Linked DNA regions of Homo sapiens: regions 1, 2, 3, 4, 6 and 7 are each linked to region 5. Evidence: promoter capture Hi-C in 16 types of primary human blood cells and fetal thymus (Javierre and others, 2016). All regions are on one chromosome and are shown on one strand. Each heading gives the region's core, a stretch centred on a gene start or on the middle of the fragment in contact. The rest is flanking DNA. Distances are from core to core; before and after follow the strand shown. Region 1 holds the start of LOC105375814 (a long non-coding RNA gene). Region 2 has its middle 75 kb from the start of SPIDR. Region 3 has its middle 94 kb from the start of SPIDR. Region 4 has its middle 54 kb from the start of SPIDR. Region 5 holds the start of CEBPD (CCAAT enhancer binding protein delta). Region 6 overlaps LOC105375815 (a long non-coding RNA gene). Region 7 has its middle 84 kb from the start of LINC00293.

What was found. Contacts are between HindIII fragments. The CHiCAGO score rates a contact against its expected background, and 5 or more counts as called.
Region 1: a fragment that was not itself captured here is called in contact with the fragment with the promoter of CEBPD in region 5 in 1 of 17 cell types (erythroblasts); the score reaches 5.5 in erythroblasts.
Region 2: a fragment that was not itself captured here is called in contact with the fragment with the promoter of CEBPD in region 5 in 5 of 17 cell types (M0 macrophages, monocytes, neutrophils and 2 more); the score reaches 10.2 in M0 macrophages.
Region 3: a contact is called between a fragment that was not itself captured here and the fragment with the promoter of CEBPD in region 5, in 2 of 17 cell types (M0 macrophages and monocytes). The highest score is 5.3, in M0 macrophages.
Region 4: a contact is called between a fragment that was not itself captured here and the fragment with the promoter of CEBPD in region 5, in 11 of 17 cell types (M0 macrophages, monocytes, M2 macrophages and 8 more). The highest score is 28.8, in M0 macrophages.
Region 6: a contact is called between a fragment that was not itself captured here and the fragment with the promoter of CEBPD in region 5, in 1 of 17 cell types (total B cells). The highest score is 6.0, in total B cells.
Region 7: a fragment that was not itself captured here is called in contact with the fragment with the promoter of CEBPD in region 5 in 1 of 17 cell types (neutrophils); the score reaches 6.1 in neutrophils.

The regions. Positions count from the first base shown.
Region 1 is chr8:46,950,564-46,954,447 of GRCh38, forward strand. LOC105375814 (a long non-coding RNA gene) reads right to left here and starts at 1,321. Exons shown (of 3, transcript NR_188092.1): 1 at 1,100-1,321. The HindIII fragment of the contact is 7,979 bases long and covers 1-3,884 here.
Region 2 is chr8:47,183,821-47,187,751 of GRCh38, forward strand. No RefSeq gene overlaps it. Among named protein-coding and RNA genes, the nearest start is that of SPIDR, 75 kb to the right of the region's middle. The HindIII fragment of the contact is 907 bases long and covers 891-1,797 here.
Region 3 is chr8:47,164,872-47,168,673 of GRCh38, forward strand. It overlaps the pseudogene NDUFA5P12. Among named protein-coding and RNA genes, the nearest start is that of SPIDR, 94 kb to the right of the region's middle. The HindIII fragment of the contact is 679 bases long and covers 1,699-2,377 here.
Region 4 is chr8:47,204,626-47,208,371 of GRCh38, forward strand. No RefSeq gene overlaps it. Among named protein-coding and RNA genes, the nearest start is that of SPIDR, 54 kb to the right of the region's middle. The HindIII fragment of the contact is 1,089 bases long and covers 1,139-2,227 here.
Region 5 is chr8:47,736,170-47,740,274 of GRCh38, forward strand. CEBPD (CCAAT enhancer binding protein delta) reads right to left here and starts at 1,995. Exons shown (of 1, transcript NM_005195.4): 1 at 744-1,995. The coding sequence starts at 1,951. The coding sequence ends at 1,142. SPIDR (scaffold protein involved in DNA repair) reads left to right here. Exons shown (of 20, transcript NM_001080394.4): 20 at 1-137. RefSeq lists an enhancer at 1,019-1,957 and silencers at 1,354-1,543, 2,034-2,143, 2,184-2,263, 2,354-2,823. The HindIII fragment of the contact is 19,422 bases long and covers 1-4,105 here.
Region 6 is chr8:47,048,374-47,051,981 of GRCh38, forward strand. The region is part of intron 3 of LOC105375815 (a long non-coding RNA gene); the gene reads left to right. Among named protein-coding and RNA genes, the nearest start is that of LINC00293, 210 kb to the left of the region's middle. The HindIII fragment of the contact is 217 bases long and covers 1,329-1,545 here.
Region 7 is chr8:46,922,602-46,926,484 of GRCh38, forward strand. No RefSeq gene overlaps it. Among named protein-coding and RNA genes, the nearest start is that of LINC00293, 84 kb to the left of the region's middle. The HindIII fragment of the contact is 4,336 bases long and covers 387-3,883 here.

The DNA.
Region 1 (3,884 bases), core at 1,121-3,620, 790 kb before region 5:
TCTTCCTCCTGACTCTGAGTTGCCAGGTGAATGACAAGAAAAAATGGGAGTTTTAGACCATCCTTCTCTCCTCTTTCTAAAAAAGCAGCAGGCTGGGCACAGTGGCTCACACCTGTAATCCCAACAGTTTGGGAGGCTGAGGCAGGAGAATTGCTTGAACCTAGGATTTCAAGACCAGCCTTGCCAACATGGAGAAACCCCGTCTCTACAAAAAATACTAAAAATTAGCCAGGTATGATGGTGCACGCCTGTAGTCCCAGCTATCCGGGAGGGTAAGATGGGAGGCCCCCTTGAGCCCAGGAGTTTGAGGGTGCAGTGAGCTGCAATTGTGCCATTGGACTCCAGCCTCCATCCTGCGTGACAGAGTAAGACCCTGTCAAAAAAAAAAAAAAAAACAGTGAACTTTTCTTAATTAATTACGTGACTTCCTATGCTGATTTAATTGAGATATTGCTTTCATGTTATTCACTTTTAAAATGGATCATGTTTTGTTTGACTCCTTCTCTGTCAATTTCAAATAAAGAATTGTTTTTCATATTTGCTTCTAAATGCATATTTCAGACAGCAGTCCTGGGACTCCTGGAAAGTCCTCTACTGAGAAAGAGCACAGATTTGCAGACCTTTGGGAACTTCTGCTCCATTCTCTAGGATTCTGCCTCCTGAGGACAAATGGAGGAGTAGAAAGCAGCCAGAGCCTCTCACAGGTCAGCACTGCTCTCCAGCTCAGCCCTAACTCTTAGGAGAGTTGTGGCCCAGAGCCTCCTGTGACGGAAAGGCTGCTGGTGAGCAACTCTTGAGGGCCTGTTCCCCTCTGGTGTCCTGAATTCTTTAACAAACCAATCTATGGGCCTGAATTCCATGGTATTTGTGATTTTACCACACCTGGGCAAATGGTCTGTAACTTTTGGATAAAAGCCTTTGTCCCCACCTACCTTCTGTGCTGCCCAACCTGTTCTCCTAGACCAATGCTATTCTAATGTCCCCCGAGAGTTCCCATTCCTGAGGTCTCTCCATCCCAAGGATAGATTATGAAAAGAGAAAATAGGAATAGGAAAACAGAAGTTAACCTCTAATGTGGGCAGCCCTTGGGATTCCTTACCAGATTGATGTCTGTGTCTTTTCAAACATGGATAAATATGGATATCACTGAATGCAGAGACATGATAGAAAGATGATCTCAACCTCACTCAAATAAAGAAAGAACCAAAGAAAGCCCCAGGGATTGTTAAAATGCAGAAGAAACCAGCCCAAATTCTCCAGCATCTGTAGCTAGTGGCTTCCCCGGGCAACTGAGCAGAGAATGTGCTCTCTAGACTAGAGTTCCTGACCCGCATCACAAAGATATGGTACAGTCACAAAGGGGTCTTGAGCTTAGGGAGGGGACAAAGGAGGAAGTAACCCCAAGGCCCCCATTATTCTCCCCTCTCTTCTCTGGTCCTTCCTACTTGTCACCCATAACTGTTCTTTCTATCATCTATCTATCTATTCACCCATCCATCTACTCATCATCTATCCATCTATTCACCCATCCACCTACTCATCATCTATCTATTTATCAGCAATTGTCATGTATCATCTGTCTATTATCTATCACCTATTGATCTATCAATCAATTATCTATCATCTATCACTTATTAATCAATTATCTATCAACTGTCTATCACAATCACTGTTTCAATCTATCCTCATCTATCTGGTACCTATTAATTTATATCATCCATCTGTCATCCATCAACTATCATCTGTCATACATTCATCTATTTATCTGTCATTTATTAATTAATCAATCAATCTATTATCTATCACCTATCACCAATTAATCTATGTCTCTCTTATACCTATCTTTCTTATCTATATATCATCTCCCTTAATGCAATTTCCTCTTTACCCCAACTTTACCCCAGATATTCATGAAATTTTCTTTTCTTCCTTAGAGATATGCTTGGACCTCACCATCTCCACAGCTTTTAGAGGTCTGATCACCTCCCAGGAATTATTATTAAATTTCCAGGCATTATTTTTAAAATGTTGACTTTAAAAGTATAATACAAAGACAGAAAATGTAAACATCATCAGCACACAGCATGACGATTTATTAATCACTGACTTACACCAAGAAACCAGCGCTGCATCAAAGCAGATTTCCCAGGATCTGGACGCCACCCTCACGCTCTCTGCCTATCACTCCTTAAGACCACCTCCCTTCTGTGCCCAGTGCATCACTCTATGATTCTCACCAGTGCTGATGACTTTCCCCAGGCACACTGTTTTGCTTCTCCTCTGTACCTACTCCCTTAGCCCTCGCAATATTCCTCACATTACATATGAGGAACCCAGTGAGCAGAGTTCACAGTGACTGCCAAGGTCACACTTCTAGGAACCACAGCAGAGCTAAGACCAACCCAGGGGCTCAGGCTCTGGAATCACATCCTTTAACCACTGGGCTGGGTTGTGTCAAGCATCATGACAGATGGGGGCATGGTTAGAGTGCACAGTGAGATGTGGGTTCACAATACTCTTCTTTTACTTCCTCTCACTTGCAGCAGAGTTCAAGTTGAGAAGATGTAAAAGAAGAGTATTGGGGGGGCCGTGGTGAGGAGGCAGGGCTACAAGAGGGGAAGGAAGGGTCACAGGACACAGCTATTAGGTGCAAAGGCAGATCTGAGCCTAGGGCAGATTAGGGGCCATTATTTATTTGCCATTTCACAGAGGACAGGAGAAATCTGAGGTGAGTAATAGCCCTGTATCCAGCAGGCGCAGCTCAGTGCTCTGCTTGAGGCTGTTGCTAGATGTGTCTGAAGTCAGTCATTGTCTCTGGACTGAGGGGTCAGGTGAAACCTGACTCCTTGGCACTCTGGGGGGCCTGGGTTCCTGACTGCACTCAAGCAGTTCACAGGATGTCTGCCCAGGTCCATGCTGTAGGAGGATCAGGGGAGAACTGAGAAGTGCGTGAGGCTCAAGGTGAGCATGGCAGGGCTAGGGGTGAGTGTGGGCTCCAGGACGGGTGGACTTGTCATGGTGGCCCACGGTTAGCTAGGGGAGGGGATGAGGCTATGGGGCAGGAGGCTTTCCTCTCAGCTCCACCACTCACTGGTTATGAACTGTGGATGGGCAACTTTATCTCTCAGAGTACTGCTTTCTTCATGTCTGAGACTGATTGCATCACTGCCCAAATCAAATTGACATGTGAATTAAATAAGGTAGAATTTTATTTATCTTATAGATGGCACATAAGGGCCATTGATACCTTTCAATTTCTCTTCCCTGTGTTGTCTTTGCTGAACTCTCTTCTCTTTGATACTGATCTAGGGTAAGTATTGATGAGATCTTACTATCTTGCAAAAGAGAGATAAAATGGAAAAATAATGTTTTCTTTGAATGATTTCTTGGTGTTAGGGGTTTCCATCACTCTTGCATAATTAGCAACAAGACCTGACTTAGACATTCAGCATGGAGCAAAGAACCCTGGCAGTACAGCCAGAACCAGCTGCGGGCTGGATGGGTGTATCAGTCAGTGTTCCCTAGAGAAATACTTACATATGATATACATTATATGTTTACAAGTATTATACATTCATATCAATTTATATAACTATGTAATTTATATTAATTAGATATATGACATAATTATATATAACGAGTATTATGGGGGCTAAGTCCTAAGGTCTGCAGTCATCAAGAGACCCAGCAGGTTCCAGTCCAAATGCTGGCAGCTTGAGACCCAGGAAGAACTCATGTTTCAGTTGGAGTGTGAAGGCAGGAGAAAGCTCATGTCCCAGCTCAAAGGCAGTCAGGCAGAAGGAGTTCTGTCTTAATGAGCTTTTGTGTTCTATTCAGGCCTTTGGCTGATTGGATGGGGCCCACCCAAATTAGGGAGGGCTCTC
Region 2 (3,931 bases), core at 94-2,593, 550 kb before region 5:
GCTCTCACTGTCCTACAGCAGGGGTGGCAAATCTCTAGTGCCCACCCAGTACACTCTAGTGGAGTGTACTGCTCCACCCCTGCAGTACAGGGGACATTGCTAACTGATCTGTCACTTTTTGCCCTGATGCCACCTCGGAATCTTTTTCTTTTTTTTTGAGATGGAGTCTCACTCTGTCTCCCAGGCTGGAGTGCAGTGGCGCAATCTCAGCTGACTGCAAGCTCCGCCTCCGGGGTTCACGCCAATCTCCTGCCTCAGCCTCCCGAGTAGGTGGGACTACAGGCGCCCGCCACCATGCCGAACAAATTTTTTTTTTGTATTTTTAGTAGAGATGGGGTTTCACCATGTTAGCCAGGATGAGTCTCGATCTCCTGACCTCGTCATCCACCCACCTCAGCCTCCCAAAGTGCTGGGATTACAGGCATGAGCCACCGTGCCTGGCCCCACCTCGGAATCCTTCTTAACACATGCTCTGAAATTAGCACACTAGCAATGAAATGAAGATGACTTATGAAATAAAACCCACAGGTCATCCTCTGTACTGCAAGGTGGAACTCAATCTCTGGAGAGTGGCATTCCAGGCTTTTCATGACCCCTCCAGCCATTTCCCTTCTGCCCTCTCCAGGCTCTCTAGTCCCCATTCCATGCCTTTGCTCCTCCTTTTCCATCTGTCTAGAATGTTCTTCATCCCCTATCTCCTGGCAAACTACTCCTCATGCTTCAAGACCTCTGTGAAGCCTCTTCCCCTCCCCCAGCACTCATGTGCTCTCTCTGACTCTGTCTCTCTCTCTCTCTCTCTCTCTCTCTATATATATACACACACACATATACACATACGTACATCCATATACCTACACATGCACCTATTACTGACTATCAAACCCCAGGAAAGCTTACTAGCAAGGTCACTGAGAGTAAGGATGCTGCCTCACTCAGTGACCAGCAGTGACTCATATGTGCATGTGGAATCACCGTACAAAGAAAATGTAGGTTCTGTGCTTGCAAATGGCCCTGACCTTCATGGCACTACAGGGTGGATGATTAGCTACTCACAACACAGATGCAGAAAAGGGTCCATCTTTACCTGCCCCAGTATCGAGAAAAAGCAGTATGCATTCATTAACTGCACCTTTCAAAGTACTGTCCCGCCACATAGAGTTTCTGCTCCCTATCTTCCTTCAATAAATTCCCTCTTTTTTGGTTAACTTGTCTCTTGGCTGAAATCTTTTTCCCAATACAAACAAAGGGCTGAGGATTTCTGCACTTCCTAGTACCACTAATATAGCCACAGAAACTTTCTGTAAATGGTTTCATGGTATGTTTTTTCCATCCTGTTATTTTTAAGGGTTTTTTTTTTCTTTTTTTTTTTTTTGAGTCGGAGTCTCGCTCTGTTGCCAGGCTGGAGTGCAGTGGCGCAATCTCGGCTTACTGCAACCTCCGCCTCCTGGTTCAAATGATTCTCCTGCCTCAGCCTCCCAAGTAGCTGGGTGTCTGCCACCACGCCCAGTTAATTTTTTGTACTTTTAGTAGAGAAAGGGTTTCACCATGTTGGCCGGGATGATCTCGATCTCTTGGCCTCGTGATCCACCGCCTCGGCCTCTCAAAGTGCTGGGATTACAGGCGTGAGCCACCGCACCTGGCCTTTTTTTTCCATTTTAATAAGTACACTTAACATGAGATCTCTTAACATGAAATCTACCCTCTTAACAAAATTTTAAGTACATTATACAGCATTGTTAACTGTAAGCACAGTGTTGCACAGCACATCTCTAGAACTTACTTATCTTGCATAACTGAAGCTTCATAGCCCTTGAGCAGTGACTCCCCATTTCCTTCTCCCTCTGCCCCTGGCATTCTACTCCACTGCTGTTAGGCTGACTATGATAGAGACCTCACACAAATGGAGCCAGGCAGCATTTTTTCTCCTGTGACTGACTTATTTCACTCAGCATAATGTGCTCCAGTGTTATCCATGTTGTAGCATATGGCAAGATTTAATTCTCTATGAATTTGAATAGTATCCCATTGCATCTATACACCACATTTTCTGTAAACATTCATTGATCAGTGGACCTTACATTGCCTCCCTGTCTTTGAAACTGTGATTAATACTGCAATGAATAAGAGTGTATCGATATTTCTGCAAGATCCTAACTTCCATTCTTTCGGATGCATACTCAGATGTGTTCTTTGTTTTAAGGGTATATATTTTTATTTAGTTTGTCAATCCAAGTGAGAGCCTGGCAGGGCTCTATCACTTCAGTCACAAGAAACTGAGACCTGCCCCTCATCTCTGATTTTCATAGGTTTTGTCTCACCTCTCAGCTTCCTGCCTCCTGTGGATTGGGATTCCATATCTGTCATAACAGGGATTAGTGTGGGCTAGAAATCCTCGGTCTCCTGTTTCTTTTCCATCCCTGTGATATCATAAATTATGAATTTGGTCTTTGACCCCATTTCCCATCATACAACTCATAAAACGTTTAGAATTACTGAAGTGATGCCTTTTTGTATGCCACTGAGATGACTGATGGCCAGCAGTCCCTAGGTAGCTTCAGGATAGGGGCCAGTCACCAGAAAGACCAAGGCAGGGTTAGAGGATAGGGACTTCCAGCCTTGTCTCCCAACCTCCATGGAGGGAAGAGGGGCTGCAGGTTAATCACCAGTGGTCAGTAGTTTACTCCATCAAGCTTGTGTGATGAGGCCTCCATAAAAACCCAAAGGGGGCTGGATTGGGAGAGCTTCTCGGGGACTGAACACATGAAGGTTACTGGATGGTTGTGCACCTCTTCCCATACCTCACCCTATGCACCTTTTCATCTGTGTCGGTTATATCCTTTATAATAAACCAGTGAATTTAAGTAAGTGTTCTCCTGAGTTCCGCAAGGCATTCTAGCAAATTAATTGAAGCCAAGGAGGAGTTGTGGGATCCTCAGTTTATAGGTCTTTGGTCAGAAGCACAGATGAAGCAACCTGGGCTTGTGATTGGCATAAGAAGTGGGGCACAGTCTTCGTGAAAGAGCCCTCAAGCTGTAAGATCAGACCCCATCTTCATGTAGATAGTGTCAGAACTGAGTTGAGTTAGAGGACACCCAGGTGGGGTCCACTACAAAACTGATGGCTTGCTTTGTGGGAGCGAGAAATCCCCACACATTTGGTCACGGAAGCCTTCTGTGCTGATTGTTGTGGTGACAGCAGAGCAAAGGCAGTCTGTGCTCTTTCCACTCAGCCCCGAAGACACTGAATGACACTCATAGCGCTTTCAGCGTCCTAGGGCATGGGCAGGTGTACTTTCACTGTGTAGCCTGTCTTTTCCTTTGTGGCGTCCCAGTCGTCCATCCTGGGGCATGTTACCGATCCACTTGCAGACAGTCTCAGAACCTGCAGACTTCACAGGCTGCCTTATAGATAAAGAGCACTAATGTGCATGAGTTTCCTCTTTGACTCCACAAACCTCAACACCTTTCCCCTGGGCCACATGCTGACTACTCCCCTAACCCAAAACTTGTCCTGAGACATGGGCACAAACACACATCAAGGTCACATGCCCAGACACATGGGATGACCAGAGTATTTTCCACCTGAGCTTCCTGCCTTTGTGGCAATGACTGGGCTGAGATGATTTATCTTAATAGTTAAGCATAAATATCGGGGGGATAAAAGGTTACCAATTCAGTGAAGGTCTCAGATCGTTGCTCCAGCAAGGAGAAGTGCCTGCGTTTCCCTTATTCTGGCCTTAGTGACAAGAGGAGAGAAGGGATCTAGGGGTCCTAGAGGAGATCAGACAAGAGGCTTGGGCCTCGTTTCCCTGGGGGTAGGGGCCCTGGGCTGCACTGGGCTCTGTTCACCTCCTGAATGGGAATGCTCACCCTCAGCCTCAGACAGGAGGCCAGAGTAGTAAGGGAGGCCACCAGGCCAGACCTGGAACAAG
Region 3 (3,802 bases), core at 788-3,287, 570 kb before region 5:
ATGGCGGTGTGCTGAAGAAGACCACTGGCCTTGTGGGATTGGCTGTATGCAATACTCCACACGAGAGGCTAAGAATATTGTACACAAGGATTCTTGATGCTCTTGAGGAAATCCCTAAAAATGCAGCATATAGAAAGTATACAGAAGAGATTAGAAATGAGAAGCTGGCTATGGTTAAAGCGGAACCAGAAGTTAAAAAATTAGAAGACCAACTTCAAGGCAGTCAATTAGAAGAAGTGATTCTTTTTTTATTTTTATTTTTTGAGACGGAGTCTCGCTCTGTCGCCCAGGCTGGAGTGCAGTGGCGGGATCTCGGCTCACTGCAAGCTCCGCCTCCCGGGTTCACGCCATTCTCCTGCCTCAGCCTCCCAAGTAGCTGGGACTACAGGCGCCCGCCACTACACCCGGCTAATTTTTTGTATTTTTAGTAGAGACGGGGTTTCACCGTTTTAGCCGGGATGGTCTCGATCTCCTGACCTCGTGATCCGCCCGCCTCGGCCTCCCAAAGTGCTGGGATTACAGGCGTGAGCCACCGCGCCCGGCCGAAGTGATTCTTTAGGCTGAACATGAACTAAATCTGGCAAGAAAAATGAGGGAGTGGAAACCATGGGAGTCATCAGTGGAAGAGCCTCCTGCTGATCAGTGGAAATGGCCAATGTAATTATTAAGTGACTTTGGTGTGTTGATGGGAAACTGATGTAATTAAATATTCTGTTATATTAAGAGCATGTTCATATTACTGACATTTTATAATCAAGAAAAGTGATATAGAAAATATGTAGGAGACTGTTAAAATTGGTAATTATGGTAATATGGTCATGTGAATCCATTTTTGATTTATAAAGTGTTCACACAAGTTATTTCAAAGATGATATTTCTATGAACAGAGAGGTCATGGGAAGATTTGCAAATTATTAAAGAAAAATTCTTCAATGCAGAGACCATAATCAAAAAGTAAAGTTTCTTTAGTAGTATGGTCAATACATCATTTAATTTTTCAAGTTATCCTGAAGAAGAAAAGGTCCTTAATTATCATAGTCTAAACAAATTTATAGATCACTGTTTAAAGTAAATAATACGAGTGAATATTTTCAAATGTGATAAAATAGCACAAGTGGCTGGTGATAAAATTTGACATTATGGTTAACCTCCTTAGCTGTGATCTTATGTATGTAAAGTAAAATTTAAATATGTAATTATAGGTTGATTACAAATCCATAATGTCATTTTATTTTATTCATTATTTGAATTATACCATTTACTCTGTTTTCTCATAGTCTTAATTTTATTATATTTTGTTGTTACTGTATTATATTTGAAAACCTTCAAATTAGAATACATTGTACAGTTGAAGAAATTCACTTGGTACTTAAAAGAAAGATTTCCCATTGCATAGAGGTTACTGGAGAAACTTTTCCTTTTGTTGCATTTGTGGAAATTAGTTTTCTGGCCCATGGCCTTTAATTTTCTTAATCAACCTAATTACATCAGGATAGAGGTAGAGTTTCTGTAAAAGAAGAGACATTAAGAGTTCCTGAAATTTATATCTGGCATATGGATAGGCTTATATTCAAAATATCTTAGTCATACGACTATAAGTTCAAAGTGGAATCACTAAATAGTTTGCAGTACGTTTCTAATATAAGTGTAGGTGGGTATCAAAACAAGACAAATGCTGTTCAGGGAAAGAAGTTGGCAAGCTTAATGTTAAACAAAAATAAAATTACATGTGTTTTCGCCTTTAAAAAAAAAATTCAGCAGGCCAGGTGCAGTAGTTCACACCTATAATCCCAGCACTTTGGGAAGCCAAGGCGGGAGGACTGCTTTGAGTTCAGGAGTTTGAGACCAGCCTGGGTGCCATGGCAAAACTCCATCTCTACAACAAAATAAAAAAAAAAATTAGCTGGGCATGGTGGCACAGGCCCAGTCACTCAGGAGGCTGAGGCTGGAGAATCCCTTGATTCCAGGAAGTAGAGGTTGCAGTGAGCTGAGATCCACCACTGCACTCCAGCCTGGCCAACAGAGCCAGACCCTGTCTCAAAAAAAATAAAAATCAGCAAACTCTGGAGGTGGCTGGGATTCTTTTCCTTCCACCTGAGGCTTGGATGCAGCACAATCAAGCAGGGTGTGGCTCCGACACCCATCCTGGGCCAGGCTTCCCCTTCCTCCCACAGACAGTTTCCCTCTCTCTCAATCTACATAGGAGTTTCCCTCAGAAAAAGTCCTAAAGCCTAAAATTCTACAGCCTCCTATGCTGCCACCCTCAAAAGCCCTAGGGGAATGAATACTACTGTAAAATACACACTAAAATACTAACAGAAAAAGAGGAAAATGAGTGAGAACCTGATGGGAATAACAGAACATTCCACAAAATGAAAGCTTCTATACTCACAATGAAGAAAAAACAGCTGAGGAGCTGCGCTGAGGCGAAACTGCAAGGAAGCTCCCTCCTCAGCAGTCAGCACAGTGGATAGGAGCTGTCTCTTCCCAAGGGCGCAGTCCCAAGTCATCCCAAAGCTGCCGCAGTGTCCCGTCCAGCAAGTCCTGAGGGACCTGGAGTGCTTCACTTTCTCCTCACTGTGGACGCCACACCTGCCACACGGTGCCTGCAGGTAGAACACCCATGTGCACCATTAAGGGCAGAAAAGGCAGTTTGAACGCCCCTGCTGGTCACAGTGTGCAACGCAGGATGGTTCCACCTCATGGTCATGGCCCCAGTGCTGTGAAATTAGAACTGGTGACATACATCTGGGAAATAACTGTCTTGTAACAAGACTGTTGTCATTTAACTACCAGTTTTGTTATCCTGTAACTTCTTGTGGGATGAAGAAAATTGTGTTCCAAAGAAATGATGTTTGCCATATTATTGGAGATCAGTTGTAAAACAATGTTGGATACTTCCTACGAATTACCAGTGGTTTGCTTTGTGAAGAGGTTTAAATTCCCATCTCTGGTGCATTTTGGAACAAGTGGCTTTGAGGTCAACACCTTGAAAGGTAGCCCTCAAAAGAACAAGAGTCTTCAGTTCCCACACAAAGTAAAAAATGTGAACTTAATTTTAGCATTGTTAATAGGGAACAACTATCCATGAATCCCTGCATCAAAATGCCTATGTTATAACATCCTCTCTTCCTAAGGCACAGGAGCAAGTGGTACATACTTGTCTGGCAACCAGTTTCATTAATGCTGTTGTTGTATCTGTCCAAAGATGAGAAGTAGTTTGTTACCAGTTTCACTACCTTTTGGAGTTTTAGATAACATATATCCACACTGTGATATTTACACTTTTTAATGACTCCCTTTTAAATAAAATTACCACTTTATGTGAAATCCAGTTCATGCATAATAAAGCTTGCCTGTACATATATGGTGTTGGGCATACACCATACATTCGTACATAATGCCAGCCATGCCTTAATCATGGGATAAGAATGGCCAGACACTTCCCACATTTCTGCGACAGCAAATTGAGCGCTCACACAGGGCTCCTGGCTGGAGAACAGGTGAGACCCAGACCTGCCCATGACTCTCCTCCCTCAGTGGTCCATCATTCAATTATTTAGGCACCTCTGGGGACAGACACCAGGCTCTCTGAGGCTTCAGATGCCCCAGAAAGCCTGCTCTCCTAAAAACAGTGGCCTTGGATGGAGACATTCTTGCTGCATTTCTCCTTAAATATACTCAATTTGTGTGTGTGTGTGTGTGTGTGTGTGTGTGTGTGTGTGTGTTTGAATCAACACAATTGTCCCACAGAAACTTCTAAGGGCCTAATAAATATGTGCATAGAATTTTGATGGGATAG
Region 4 (3,746 bases), core at 433-2,932, 530 kb before region 5:
GCTTCTTCCTCTCATTCCACCAAAGCACTGTTGGGTGCAGGGGCCATGGCCGTGCTTACAAGAACCCCACAGGCCAGCCAGGTGCGGTGGCTCATGCCTGTAATCCCAGCACTTTGGGAGGCTTAGGCAGGCAGATCATCTGAGGTCAGGAGTTCGAAACCAGCCTGGCCAACATGATGAAACCCCGTCTCTAATTTAAAAAAAAAAGTACAAAAATTAGTCAGGCATGGTACCGGGTGCCTGTAATCCCAGCTAGTTGAGAGGCTGAGGCAGGAGAATCGCTTGAACCCAGGAGGCGGAGGTTGCAGTGAGCTGAGATTGCACCACTGCACTCCAGCCTGGGTGACAGAGCGAGACTCTGTCTCAAAAAAAAAAAAAAAAAGAACCCCACAGGCCAAAGCTGAACCGGCTCAGGAGGTGGTACTATGGAACCATCTGAAAGACACGCTGGGTCAGGAATGTTGAGCTCGCCTCTATTTTCACCACAGAAAACAGGAGTCATGTGTGCACAGCCTCCTAAATGGGCCAATGGTCCTCAATCTTGCATGTCTCAAGATAATCTGTGGAGCTTCATAAATGTATAGCTCCTTGGGTGAAAATTCTGATTCAGGAGGTCAGGTGAGGTATAGATTTCCATAGTACAGAAAATAAAAGTTCCTCGGATGGTTCTGATGTTGAGCCAAGATGTATAAATCACTAAAATAAGCCATTGGAAAACATGATTGATTGTAAGGATATGGGTATGGATAAGGATTTAGGAGATGCCCTGAGGTCCTCTCTCTTCCAGAACCTTATTCTTTTCTTCATAGGCATGTGCCATGCTTGGTAATTTCACATTAACTTGTTTTGTGTCTGTCTCCCTCACTAGAATGTCAGCTTCTTAAGGGCAGGCACTGTGGCTGCTGTATTCACACCAATACTCCCGGTACCAGTATCTGGGAAGGCCTAGTGCTCAATAAATATTCACTGAATGAATGACAAGGAGCTGACTTTATGTACTTTTCATTGTCTTATATTTCAGATAGTGACTATATTTTTTTTTCTGTAAAAAATACAAGCATCCAAGTATGGTGGGAAAATCTACAAACACTATCACACACACAGAGACAAGAGCACACATACAGCAGTGACTGATGAAAGCTTAGGTGAGCTCTTAGTTCTCAAGGCTGTAGACTGAGGGAAGGGAGAGGAAGCAGGTTGGGGGCGTGTGTGTGCAACCCTTTTCCTCACTGAGTTGCAGGTAGGGGCATTGTGAGGCCAGCACCTCCAGCCTGGAACACTGATCCAGGACCCCCTAGTGTCTGGGGCTTGAGGCCCCACCCTGTCTTCTCAGGACTCTAAGCACATCTATTTCCAGGTATTTTCAGCTGCCACAGCCAGGAGGAACAGAATTGTTCCCCTCCCTTTCTGAGGCTCACTTTTAAAGCACTGGACTTGTGGAATCCAAGGCTCTCCCTGAAACACCAGTTCTGAGTGGATTTAAGAGGGTGGGGAGGGGAAGGGATCCTCCCCAACTAAATTTCACAGCTGCCCTCCTCATGCAATACAGGCCACGGCCTGCAGATGGGCAACAGTGATGGAGAGAAGCAGGAGTAGTACAGAATGAATTTGTGAAGACATGCACACACATGCACACACACACACATTTGCACATGCATGCACATGCACACATACCCCACTGCAAGAGAAAGGAATGTGACCCGTGGGCTGGTCTCTGGGCTGGGAGGCCCTGAGGCTGAGCCTATGGGAATCAGTCAGGAGGTTCTGCTGTTGCTCAGGCTTCTGCCTAGAAGCACCTTCTGCAAGATTGATGCTCCCCAGAGACTGGGGAAGAATCAGTAACTACCTCCTCCCCTGGCTGCCTGAGAACACCCAGGGCTTGTTATAGAATCTAACTGGGGTCCACTCACCCAGCGCAGTAAAACCAGATATCTAAACTGAGGGTTTTGCAGTGAATAGAAAGGAAGGCATTTATTGCAGGGCACCAAGCAAGGAGAATCTGGCGGGCTCCTGCTTAAAATCTGAACTCCCCGGTGGCTTGCAGATAAGGGTTTTTAAAACTAGTAGTACATTTCAGGAAAGCAGAAGCTACAGGCAAAATCACAAATCAATACACAGAAGTTACATGTTGTTTTTGGCCCCAAAGGGTGGGATATCTTGAAGCAGGGGCTTACAGGTCATAGGTAGATTCAAAGATCTTCTGATTTGCAGTTGACTAAAATAGAGAAGCTTTGTTTAAACATTTGGGGTCAGTAGAAGAATGTTAACTGGTTATGAGGAATGACTTTCTCTAAACCCCTTGGGAAGAAACTTAGAACCAAAAATCGTTTAAAGTTTAGTCTTCACTTCCCCTTTATCTGGGGGAATATGTCAGTGGATCCTTTCTGTGGGGTCCTCAGTGGGGATCCAAGCCTCTGAAAGACAACTCAGGGACATAAGCTAAGAGATTATCATTGGTTTCTGTAGGGAAAGCTAATATCTCTGGGACTCTAACCTCTTTAGCTATTGTTTTAGCCTACTGTTGTCTTCTTAACAAGTCACTTATTTACTTGTTGGGGATTGCGAAGTGCCTGGAATTGCCCTCAGAGGAACTCAGGATTTTCCTTTATTTCTGTGCTTGGGGTCTGCAGGCCCCTTAAAAAGGGGGTTCTTGCTTTCTCTCACATCCCTTACCCCAGGTTAACATAGTCAAGAATCTGAGAAAAAGGCAATGAAAATAAAACCTCTGTGTGTCTCACTTGGGAAGAATCAACTGTGCAGCTCCAGAAGTCACAGCTGCTCTCAGGTGAGCCTCCTTCCTAAGCTCTCTCCCAGGGCTGCTCCAGGGCAGCTGTCCCCATCCAGATGACTAGAATCCCACCCCATGAGACACACCAAGCCACTTGCTAATTCCTTGGGAGGTCTTGCATTTCCCCCGCAGGCCTCATCTCTGGAAACTCTCCCCTTATCCCACCCTCTCTCAAAGTGCCCTCTGCCCCAACCACGTGGCCAGTTGCTCTTCCTCTATACTGGATCCACTGAAGTCTCAATGAACTGCTCCTTTGCCCACACACCTCTCACTTCTGCTGTCACACTGAGCCCCCTCTAGGGCCCCCTGTGTGGCTGTGAATATTCCACCAGACTGAGTCTGGTTGAAGTCCACTGTGAGATTCTGCCCCTTCTCCCTGAGCCTGGCTCAGCAATGGCTGCATGGCAGACACCATCTATCCACCCATCAGAAAGGGGTCCTGATCCAGATACCAAGAGAGGGTTCTTGGATCTTGCACAAGAAAGAATTCAGGGAGAGTCCACAGAGTAACGTGAAAGCAAGTTTATTAAGAAAGTAAAGGAATGAAAGAATGGCTACTCCATAGGCAGAGCAGGGCATTTCCAAAAGCAAGAGGAGGAACATGCCCACCTTAGGTACAATGCCTTTTTATGTACAAGAGAGCAAAGCAAAAAAAATCATGGGGGAGATGTGCTCCACTACAAGGGCTCATGACAAAACAGTGTTCATCTTGTGTAACTACTGTCTTCCATAAGAATCTGTATTTTTATCTTTAAAGCAAAATATTCTTAAACTAAGAACTAAGAGGGCTCTTGTTCTTAAGATACTAGGACATCAGGACATTTCCTGAGTCTGTTAAGTCCTGCATCTGTTTAGTAAGTATTATTAATCTGTTCCCTTAACTACAAACATCTTGTGACTAAGAATGCCTGACCCCTTGAGAATGCACCCCAGCAGGTCTCAGCCTCATTTTACCCAG
Region 5 (4,105 bases), core at 745-3,244:
TCTTTGGACACTATAAAGATTTTGTTCCCTTCCTTATAGCAATATAATCATGACAGGCCATGGTTAACTACATCAGATACACGTAGCAGCCGTGACCAAGACATGGTGCCCTAATACCAAGTGTTCTTGGGTTAAAGGCAGGCGGCTTTTTAATTAAATCTTAAAGCACTGCAATTACTGGCAAGACAGCTGGTCTTAAGCAGTTTTGTGACTGCCCTTTTCATCCACTACATGACTATTCCGGCCTTTCTGGAGCACTTTTGAAAATCTACTTGACTCTGTCCACAAGACTGAGGAAAGTGAAAGCAAAGTCCCGGGAAAGCGGGAGATGATTCAGCCCGGGGTTCTGCCCCTCGCCCCTCCAGCAGCCTCTACAGTTAGGGAGCTCTTGAACTGTTCTCAGCAGGGGCCCCCAAAAAGTCAACCCTTCCCCAGGTCTGCGTTCTTCGGGAGAACACCTTCTGCTGGAAAGCTGCTAGCTTACCTGAGCTCAGCCGTGCTCCACCTAGCTTAGGCAAGTTAAATAAGGCCAGGAGAGAGCCTTTAATGCGTTTTAAAAGCGACAGACCCTCTCTCCTGAGTAGCTCGGGCCTGCGCCCCATCCCCCCGCCCCCCCCACACACACACCTGGCGCCCGGGCTCCCTGGTGCTCGCTGGCTGCGGGTCCGGAACGCACCCTTCCCGAGCCGGGTCCTGCGCCACCGGCGGGCGGGCGGGAGTCACTGCGAATATAGGAAGCAGGGGCGATTTCAAATGCTGCTTTATTCTTACAAATACTGTAAAAATTAATATAAAAAAGTGAGCATGCTCAGTCTTTTCCTCTTATCTACAATACAAAGGGTTTGTCTGAAAAGTCTGGTTTTTTTTCTTTTTACAAATGTACCTTAGCTGCATCAACAGGAGTAAGATGTAGAAAAAGCTACCATTACAAAAATAATTTAAGGGAAAATAAACACGTTTAGCTTCTCTCGCAGTTTAGTGGTGGTAAGTCCAGGCTGTAGCTTCTTTGCGCTCCTATGTCCCAAGAAACTGCAGCGGGCACCCGGCGGCTCTGGCTGCGCCAGGGCAGGGCGCGCTCCGCTCCGGGCCGTCGGGTCTGAGGTATGGGTCGTTGCTGAGTCTCTCCCGCCCCGGCCGCGCGTTACCGGCAGTCTGCTGTCCCGGCGGCCGGCAGGAAGGGCGGGCTGGGCAGCTGCTTGAAGAACTGCCGGAGGCCGGCCAGGTCCCGCGTGAGCTGCTCCACGCGCTGGTGCAGCTTCTCGTTCTCAGCCGACAGCTCCACCAACTTCTGCTGCATCTCCTGGTTGCGCCGCTTGGCCTTGTCGCGGCTCTTGCGCACGGCGATGTTGTTGCGCTCGCGCCGCTGCCGGTACTCGGGGCTGCCGCGGTCCGGGCCCCTCTTGCCGGCGCTCTTCTCCCGGGCGGGGCCGGGCGCGGGGGTCTGCCTGGGGCTGCTGCGCGGCGGCTCCGGCGACGTGGGCGGGGTGGGCTGCCCTGCGGCCGCCAAGCTCACCACGGTCTGTGCGCACGCGGCCACCTGCGCGGGCAACAGCGAGCCGGGCGCGTCGCCGTCGCCCCAGTCGGGCTCGCGCTTGAGCAGGCGGGGAGCGGCAGGGCCCGGGCCCAAGGGGCGCGCGGGGCCGCCGGGAAGAAGCTCCAGGGGCCCCGCGCCGCCCGCCTTGTGATTGCTGTTGAAGAGGTCGGCGAAGAGCTCGTCGTGGCACAGCTCCAGGGTGGGCACGGCGGCCATGGAGTCGATGTAGGCGCTGAAGTCGATGGCGCTCTCGTCGTCGTACATGGCGGGGGCGGCGGCGCCTGGCTCGCCTAGGGCCCCTGGCTCGGCCCCGCGGCCCGGCTTGCCCGCCCGGCCCGGTTCGTAGAAGGGCGCAGGCTCCGCAGGCCAGGGCGCGCCGCGCGCCGGGCCGTCCAGGCTGAAGAGCGCGGCGCTCATGGCGGCGTCGGGCCGGGCTCTGCGTCCAAGCGAGGCTGTCACCTCGCTGGGCCCAGCCCCGCCGCCTTTTCTAGCCCCGGCTGACGTGCACGCCCCGCCCCGACTCCGGCACCGCGGGGGCGCCCCGGGGCCGCGGGGGAAGGGGCGGGGGCGCCCTGGGAGCCCCCCGGAGCCGCCCCGAGCCTTCCCGGGGCGCGCCCCCTCTCAGTTCCTCCCCGGGGCCCCCTCCCCGGCCCTGGGGACCCCCAGCCCACGTTGCAGGAGGGTGCCCGCGCTGCTGCTCCCTCCCCGGCCCGGGCCGGCCTGCGCTGCGCTGCTGGGAATGACACTCCCTCTGCCAGCACTCCAGGGCCTTCTCTTCTTCCTGTTTGTGGGCTTGGAACCTCCTCGCTCCTCGGGGTTGGGAGTGAAATCAAAACCAGGACTTGGCCGCAGCGCGCGCGTCCCAGGCCGGCTCCTGTCGCCGGAGGGCGGGGGGTGGAGACCCGTGGGAGAGGACCCGCGCGTCCAAGGACGCCCCCCGACCGTGGGCACGCGCGTGAGGCCCTCGCCCCGCGCCTCCACCGTGGGACCAGATGCGGGAAGAGGCGTGGGGGACCAGACGTGGGGACAGCGGCGGCCTGGCAGGCGGGGAGGGCTGCCCGCACCGCACTCGGGCGCCTCGGGGAATCCGGGCCGGTTCTCGCTGCTCTCCTCGGAGGTCCCGGGTCCGGCCGGCCCTGGGGGTCGAGGCCCAGAGACGCGGCTGCTGCGTCCTGGCCGAAAGGCCGACGGGACGCTGTCGCCAAAAGCAGAGCAGATGGGGGAGACGCGGTCACGACACCGCGTCCTCCGCCGGCTCCTCGAGGTGCGGGCTCTCCGGCCGGACGCTACTCCCCGACCCCGCAGACCCGGGCGTCCGCCGCCAGCTCCCGCGCCCGCGTTTCTTCCAGGTCTACGGAAGCAGTGCCATCGTGTGGCGGCATCTTGCGTTAGACCTGTTTTTAGTTCCAGGCTCTTTCCCTGTTAAATATTCCAAAAAAGTGCCTTGAACCTAAAGTAGTTGGGTCCTTTTTGGGAAACAGGTAAGATCTACCAGTAGCTATAGCAGGGTGCAGATGGGCCTCGACTCACGATGGGGTTACATCCCGGTAGACCCATCGCACACTGAAAATGTCTTAAGTAAGAATGGGCTTTGTCATGTGTCCTGCAATTTGAGGCAGGCATTTCTGGTCAGACCCATTTATTATTTTAAATTAAAAATATGGTTTTTTTCAGCCGAGCACAGTGGCTCATGCCGGTAATCCCAGCATTTTGGGAGGCTGAGGTGGGCGGATCACTTGAGGTCAGGAGTTTGAAACCAGCCTGGTCAACATGGTGAAACCCCATTTCTACTAAAAATACAAAAATTAGCCAAGCGTAGTGGCGTGCGCCTGTAATCCCAGCTACTCGGGAGGCTGAGGCAGGAGAATCGCTTGAACCCGGGAGGCGGAGGTTGCAGTGAGCCGAGATCGTTCCATTGCACTCCAGCCTGGGCGACAGAGCGAGACTCCATCTCAAAAAAAAAATTGAGATGGGATCTCACAATATTGTCCAGGCTGGTTTCAAACTCCTGGGCTTAAGAGATTCGCCGGCCTCAGCCTCCCAAAGTGCTGGGATTACAGGCGTGAGCCACCATGTCGGGCCCAAATCCATTAAATCACTATCGCTAGTCACACCTGCTCCATGTCGAGTCTCTTCCTGCGCAGGCCTCTCACCAGATCTGCGTCGGAACACCAAGCTCTACTAACTGCTGTGCAGTTTCTGCAGTCAGTTCCAGAGGTCATTTCTAACGTTGCACTATGGGATATTTAATAGGTTTCCTAAAGAACAAACATATTTCTTTAGAGTTACTCAGAGGGTACACAATGATGATGTCACACAATTAATTACCTATTAAGACTGAAATCCAGCAATGCATAGAGTGTGGACTTACGCACATCCAGAAAAAGTTCTAGCACAAATTGTTTTGTTCTCATATATTTCAGAAGCCATAGAAACACTATTAAAGCCCTCCCTAATCACTTAGGGAATGCAAAATCAATATTTATAAGGGATAACCATATCCTCCTAAAAACAACTCAGAGACTATTTTCAGTGAGATGATTTACTGATTCCGATAGTCAATATAGTTAC
Region 6 (3,608 bases), core at 187-2,686, 690 kb before region 5:
ACAAGTGCTAACTATCCAAAATATGTATGAACCCAATACAGGAGCACCCAGATTCATAAAACAAGTTCTTAGAGACCTAGAAAGAGACTTAGACTCCCACACAATAATAGTGGGAGACTTTAACACCCCACTGAAAATATTAGACAGATCATTGAGACAGAAAATTAACAAAGATATTCAGGAACTGAACTCAGCTCTAAATCAAGTGAACCTAATAGATATGTACAGAACTCTCCACCCCAAAACAGAATATACATCCTTCTCATCGCCACATGGCACTTATTGTAAAACTGACCACATTATTGGAAGTAAAACACTCCTCAGCAAATCCAAAGAACTGAAATAACAATAAACAGTCTCTCAGACAACAGCACAATCAAATTAGAACTCAGGATTAAGAATTTCACTCAAAACCATATTACTACATGGAAGGTGAACCACCTGCTTCTGAAAGGGTAAATAATGCACTTAAGGGAGAAATCAAGAAGTTCTTTCAAACTAATGAGAACAAATATACAATACACCTGGGAATCTCTGGGACACAGCTAAAGGAGTGTTAGAGGGAAATTTACAGCACTAAATGCCCACATCAAAAAGCCAGAAAGATCTCAAGTCAACAACCTAAATAACAACTAAAAGAATGAGAGAACCAAGAGCAAACAAACCCCAAAGCTGGAAGAAGGCAAGAAATAATCAAAATCAGGGCTGAACTAAAAAAGATAGAGACACGAAAAACCCTTTTAAAAATCAACATATGCAGGAGCTGGTTTTTTGAAAAAATTATTAAAATAGACCACTAGCTAGACTAATGAAGAAGAAAAGAGAGAAGATTCAAATAGACAAAACCAGAAATAATAAGAAGGATATCACCACTGACCCCACAGAAATACAAACAACTATCAGGGAATACTATAAACACCCCTATGCACATAAACTAGAAAATCTAGAAGAAACAGATAAAATCCTGGATACATACAACCTTCCAAGACTGAACCAGGAAGAAACTGAATCCCTGAATAGACCAATAATGAGTTCTGAACTTGAGGCAGTAATAAATGCCTACAAACAAACAAAAAAAAAAAGCCCAGGACCAGATGAATTCACAGCTGAATACTACCAGAGGTACAAAGAAGAGCTGGTACCATCTGGAACTATTCCAAACAGCTAAACTCAATCTATGAGGCCAGTACACCAAAACCTGGCAGAGACATAACAAAAGAAAACTTCACTCCAATATTCTTGAAGAAGATTGATGCCAAAATCTTCAACAAAATACTGGCAAACTGAATCCACCAGCACTGCAAAAATGCTTATCCACCACAGCAAAAAGCTTATCCATCACAATCAAGCTGACTTCATTCCCAGGATGCAAAGCTGATTCAACACACACAAATCAAATGTGATTCATCACATACACCGAACTAGGTACAAAAACCACATGATTATGTGAACAGATGCAGAAAATGCCTTTGATAAAATTCAACATGCTTTCATGTTAAAAACTCTCAGTAAACCAGGTATTAAAAGAACGTACCTCAAAATAAAAGCTTATATGACAAACTCACAGCCACTATTATAGTGAATAGGCAAAAGATAAAAGCATTCCCCTTGAAAACCAGCACAAGAGAAAGCTGCCCTCTCTCACCACTCCTATTCAACATAGTATTGGAAGTTCTGACCAGGGCAATCAGGCAAGAGAAAGAAATAAAGGGTATTCAAATATAAAGAGAAGTCAAACTATCTTTGTTTGCAGATGACATGATTCTATTTCAATAGAACCCCGTCATCCCAGCCCAACAGCTTCACAGAAAAAGCTCATAAGCAACTTTAGCAAAGTCTCAGAACATAAAAGCAATCTGCAAAAATCACCAGCATTCCCATACAACAACAGGCAAGCCAAGAGCCAAATCATAAATTAAATCTCATTCACAACTGCCACAAAAATAAAATCACTTTTGCTATGCTTTAGCAGAGACTGGCAGCATTTTTCCCCTAAACTAGAGAACTATGGATCTTGGAACTTCAGAGAGATTATTTGGAGTATCTTTGCAGAAGAATTTTTTTTTTTTTTTTTTTTTCTGAGAGACTTTTGCTCTGTCACCCAGGCTAGAGTGCCATGGTGTGATCTCATCTCACTGCAATCTCCGCTTCCTGGGTTCAAGCAATTCTCATATCTCAGCCTCCTGCATAACTGGAAATACAGGCATATGCCACCACACCCAGCTAATTTTTGTACGTTTTGTAGAGATACCGTTTCCCCATGTTGGTCAGGCTGGTCTCAAACTCCTGACCTCAAGTGATCCAACCACCTCAACCTCCAAAACTGTTGGGATTACAGGCAAGCGCCACCGTGCCCATCCCAGAAGAAATTTCTAAGCAGCAAATCATTCAAGATATAACCTGGCTGTTTATTTATTTGAGACTGCGTATAGCTCTGTCACCCAAACTGGAGTGCAGTGGCGTGATCTTGGCTCACTGCAACCTCCACCTCTCAGGTTCAAATGATTTTCCTGCCTCAGTCTCCTGAGTAGCTAGGATTACAGGCACGTGCCACCACACCCAGCTAATTTTTGTGTTTTCAGTAGAAACGGGGTTTCACCATGTTAGCCAGGCTGGTCCCGAACACCTGATCTCGTGATCCACCCATTTCGGCCTTCGAAAGTGCTGGGATTACAGGCGTGAGCCACCACACCCGGCCATGACCTGACTGTTTCTTAACGTGTATAGTCATGTGTCTTCACAAAGAGATGGTCTGAAATTGGAATTTACATTTTAAAAAAAAAACAGAGCATAAAAATTTGGAAAACTTGCAGCCTGACCATGTGTTGGGGAAAAAATGCACTTTCTGGGGAGATATTCAAGATAGTGGCTGTAGAAATTTGCATAAGAGAAGGTGAATGTTAATAACCAAGACAATGGGAAAAAATGTCTTCAGGGCATTTCAAGATCTTCATGGCAGCCCCTCCCATCAAAGGCCTGAAGGCCTAAGAGAAAAAAAATAGTTTTCTTGACTGTGCCCAGGATCTCACTGCTTTGTGCAGCTTTGGGACATGGAGCCCTGTGTCCCAGCTGCTCCAGCTCCAGCTGTGGCTAAAAGAGGCCAAGGTACAGCTCAGACACTGGCTTCAGAGGGTGCAAGTCCCAAGCTTTGGTGGCTTCTACATGCTGTTAAGCCTGTGGGTGCATAGAAGGCAACAATTTAGGAGCCTCTACCTAGATTTCAGAGGATATATGGAGGTGCCTGGATGTCCAGGCAGAAGTCTGCTGCAGGGACAAAGCTCTCATGGAGAAGCTCTACTAGGGCAGTGCAGACGGGAAATGTGGGGTTGGAGATGTCACAGACAGTCCCCACTGGAGCACTGCCTCATGGAGCTGTGAGAAGAGGGCCACCATATTCCAGACCCCAGAATGGTAGATCCACTGACAGTTTGCACCATAAACTGGAAAAGCCGAAGGCACTCAGTGCTAGTCCCAGTAAGCAGCAACAGGGGCTGTACCCTGCAGAGCCACTGGGGTGAAGCTGTCCAAGGCATTGGGAGGCCATGCCTTGTGTCAGTGTGGCATGGAGTCAAAGGAGATTATTTTGGAGCTTTAAGATTTAATGACTG
Region 7 (3,883 bases), core at 1,305-3,804, 810 kb before region 5:
AGCTACCCAGCCTCCATGCCAGATGAATCTGAGAATCAGGAAAACTGGGGTCAAAAACCACTTAACGGGAGCCCAACTCCCAAGGAGCTCTTAGGAGACAAGGAGGAGTCAAGCCTTGGATTCCAGGCATTATCTGATTCCTTCCAAGCACGATCCCCAGACCCCAGATGCCAGGCCACCCACAGAGCCCTGACGTCCTCCTGTGGACACCCTCCCAGGGAGATGCCCATACTCCCCCAGGGATAAAGTCGCTTGGATACCACAGATGCTGCGGCCACACGGTGATGCTGGAGACTGGATGGAACTATAAAACATCAAGTTGCCTTTGAGAAGCTCTAGGGTCTGCAGCCCCAGCACCTGCACCTAGGTAGGATTTTTTCACCCCAAGCTTTTCTCTGTCTTGCATCCTTGCCGCCTTTCTGCCTATCTTCTCCATCTTCCTGGGAGCGGTGTTTGGCCTGCTCGCCCATCCACCTCAATGCACATGCCAGTCTCGGTTACTTGCCAACACCATGCAAGCTGCGGAGACACATAGAAGATGCACAACGTTTGCTCCCTGTCTACAGGGAGATGGCAGTCTCAGAGACGAAGCCAGACAAATGCCTCTGTCGTTTAAATCAATCATGTCCAACTACAATTGAGGACAAAGTAAGAGGACTGGTGATCTAATAACAGGAATTTAGAGAAGTGGGAACTCACCGAGTGGTCGGAGCCATCCTCCTGTGTTCAGGCTTGATGCATGAGTAAGATTGTACTATGTGGAATGGAGAGGAAGGGTGTGCTCGGCAAGAGGAACAGCAAGTGCAGAGGCTCAGAGGTTAAAGAGAGGAAACCAGAATGAGGAGTGAGGGCCAGAGTTGGGGCCAGAGAGAAATGCAGCTAGACTCTTATGGTAGTGGTGTGCTTAGCTGTGGTCTGTGCAGGATAGTTTCCGAATAGAGCAGGGAGACATGAATGCCCTGAGATCAAGGGCAGTGGGAAAGTGCCTTGTGGGGAGCCTGGTGTCTGCAGGCAGGCAGAGCAGGGACCAGGAATGGCTGATGGCTGGAATCGCTAAGCCGCATAGGATGGACTATTATAAGTTCAGCACCTGGACACTGGCCACTTCAGATCTGTCTATACTCAGTTGTAATCCAGGCCTTTACCATTGTCCTCCATATTTCCACCCAGCTTTCTTTTCCATTTATTGGAGAGCCAGGCCACCTGGGTTCTGGTGCTGCTGGATTCAGGCCCTGCCCTCAGGCTCATGGCAAGCAGGTAGACAAAGAGAAAAGTAGACAAAAAAGATGGGGAGAAACCACTAAGCCAATACCATACCCACATAAACTCCAAACTCACATGTCTTTTAACATGGCACTGGGTGCTCCTGCAGTGGAAATCCACACGTGTTGTGGTTACAGCATCTTGTCTCTGAAAAAACTTCACAACCACCATTGTGCTTTGCCCCGCATGGCCCTGCTCAGGGGTAACTGTCCATCTTCCCTAAAGGAGGAGAGGCTGCCTGATGTTCAGGGAGCCCAGAGGTCTTGGCCAAAGCCACAGCAATGCCTGTGGATATAGGCCCACAGAGCAGCCCTACTCAAACTAGGCCCTGGCCCATCAGAATGCTCTGCCCTACAAGCCCTGCCATCCCACCACCCACCCCTCTGCTGGGCCTTGTTGGGCTGCCATGGGAATGTGACTGGCCAGCTCTCAGTGCCCTGAAACCCATGAGGTAGACCATCGGGCCAGCCCAGCTGTTCTTGGATCCTTCCTGATGCATGCCAACATCTGGGGCCACTTGGGTCCCAAGGAGAATTGTTGAGCACCAGGGCAAGAAGCATAAGGACTCACACCATCCCTCCCAGGTTCCATCACCCATCACTTCACCTGGGCTTGCATGAGCAGCCCCATCAGGCATGAGAAGCACATAGCATGTCCTGCCCATGGGGAGGCCTCCCAGGGGAAACAGGCCAGGCTGGGGGGCCATGGGGCTTTACAAACATCTCAAAGGCAGCAAAAGGAGGACTTTTCCTCAGCCAATAGCACCCCAGGATTTGAGCCGAAAGTAGGATTCAAGACACATGACTCCTTGCTAGAGGGATGCCATTTTTAGGGTGAAAGTTTCCCCCAGTGAAAAAACTATGCCAGGAGGCCAGCTCAGGTCAGCATCTCCAGTGCCAAACTCAAACAGATAGTTGATGTCTGGTGATAAATAGTGAAAACTTCAAGGAAAGGAAAGGCCGGGCCCATGCTTTGGACATTTATGTTCACACATCAGGAACTTTTTGCCAAGTGCATAACCATTCAGAGGTACAAAAAATTAACAAGAGCCACAGAAAAGAGGGGTATTCTATAATATTGCATAATACATGGTGGACTTGTTAATCACTGTATCACATAGGCCAGTGCTTTATGCACAGACTTGCTACAGTGCTCTCTTTTCATTTACCCCAGGGTTTATCTCTACACTAAGTCTCTCCGGGAAGTTTAGATGCACAGCTTCTGAATCTCTTCATACCAGAAATCCTCCCAGCATCCCAAACCTTTTGTCGGCAGTTCCTGCCATTGGAGGAATTATTGCAAATGGTGCATTAGTTATCTATTGCTGTGTGACACATTTCCACAAACATACCAGCTTTAAATTCCTTGCAGTCATCATCTCGCAGTTTCTGGAGGGGCAGAAATCTGGGCTCACCTGGGTTCTTTTCCTTAGGAGGTCTCATGAGCCTTCAGCCAAGATGTTGACCAGAGTTGAAGGTCTCATCTCAAAATGTGACTCGGGAGAGATCCACTTCCAAGCTCATGTTGTCTTTGGAGGATTGGCATTTCGTGGGCTGTTGAATTGGCCACAAGTCCTGCCCACACTTAGGGGAAGAGGTGACATGAAGACCTGGATGCCAGGGGGTGGCATCACCAGCGGCCAGCAGGCTGGCTGCAGTAGGTGGCCTCTAGATTGCCCCAGCAGCCCCTGCTTGCTGGTATTCACAGCCTAGTGCAATTCCCTCTTCTTGAGTAACTCGCTGTGATGTTAGGATCTCTCAGGGTCAAGGGGATGCCACTTCTGTGACAGATGTGATTGAATAACATGAGATTGTAACATCCTTATTGACAGCAGACACTCACCCTTGCCAGCTTGTATGACGCTAGCTGCTACACCATGAGCTGTCCGTGTGGCCAGGAACTGAGGGTGTCCTGCAGCCACAGCCATCAGGAAATCAAGGGGCTCAGCATAATAACCCACAGAGAACCGAGTCCTGCCAATATCACAGGAGGGAGGAACAGCCCTGTCCCAGCCAAGATCTCAGGTAGGGATTAGCCAGGGTTCTCCAGAGAAAGAAAATTGATAGCGTATATATGTGGATATATGAAAGGGGATTTATTATGGAAATTGTGATTACAGAGGCTGAGGAGTCAGCCCCATAACCTGTCCTCTGCAAGCTGGAGACCCAGGAAAGCCCATGGTGTAGGTCAATCAGCATCCAGTGGCCTGAGAACCAGGAGCCCCTATGTTGGAGGGCAGGAGTAGATGCGTGCCTTAGCTCAGCAGATCCCCTCTTCCCCAGCCTTCTGTTCTGTTATGTTCAGGATGCCAGCCCACATCAGTGAGGACAATTCTTTTTTACTCAGTGTGATGGTTAATTTTGTGCGCCAGCTTGACTGGGTTAAGAAATACCTAGAGCACCGATAAAGCATTATTCCTGGGTGTGGGTAAGGCTGAGTGGGGAAGATGCCCTGGATGTGGGTAGGCACTGTCCAATCAGCTGGAGAGAATCCTAAAGAAAAAGGCAGAGGAAAGGTGATTATCCCGCTCTCTCTCCTGGAGTTAGGACACACTTCTGCCCTTGGTCATCAGAACTCCAAGCTCTCTGGCCTGTGGACTCCAGGACTCACACCAGAACCA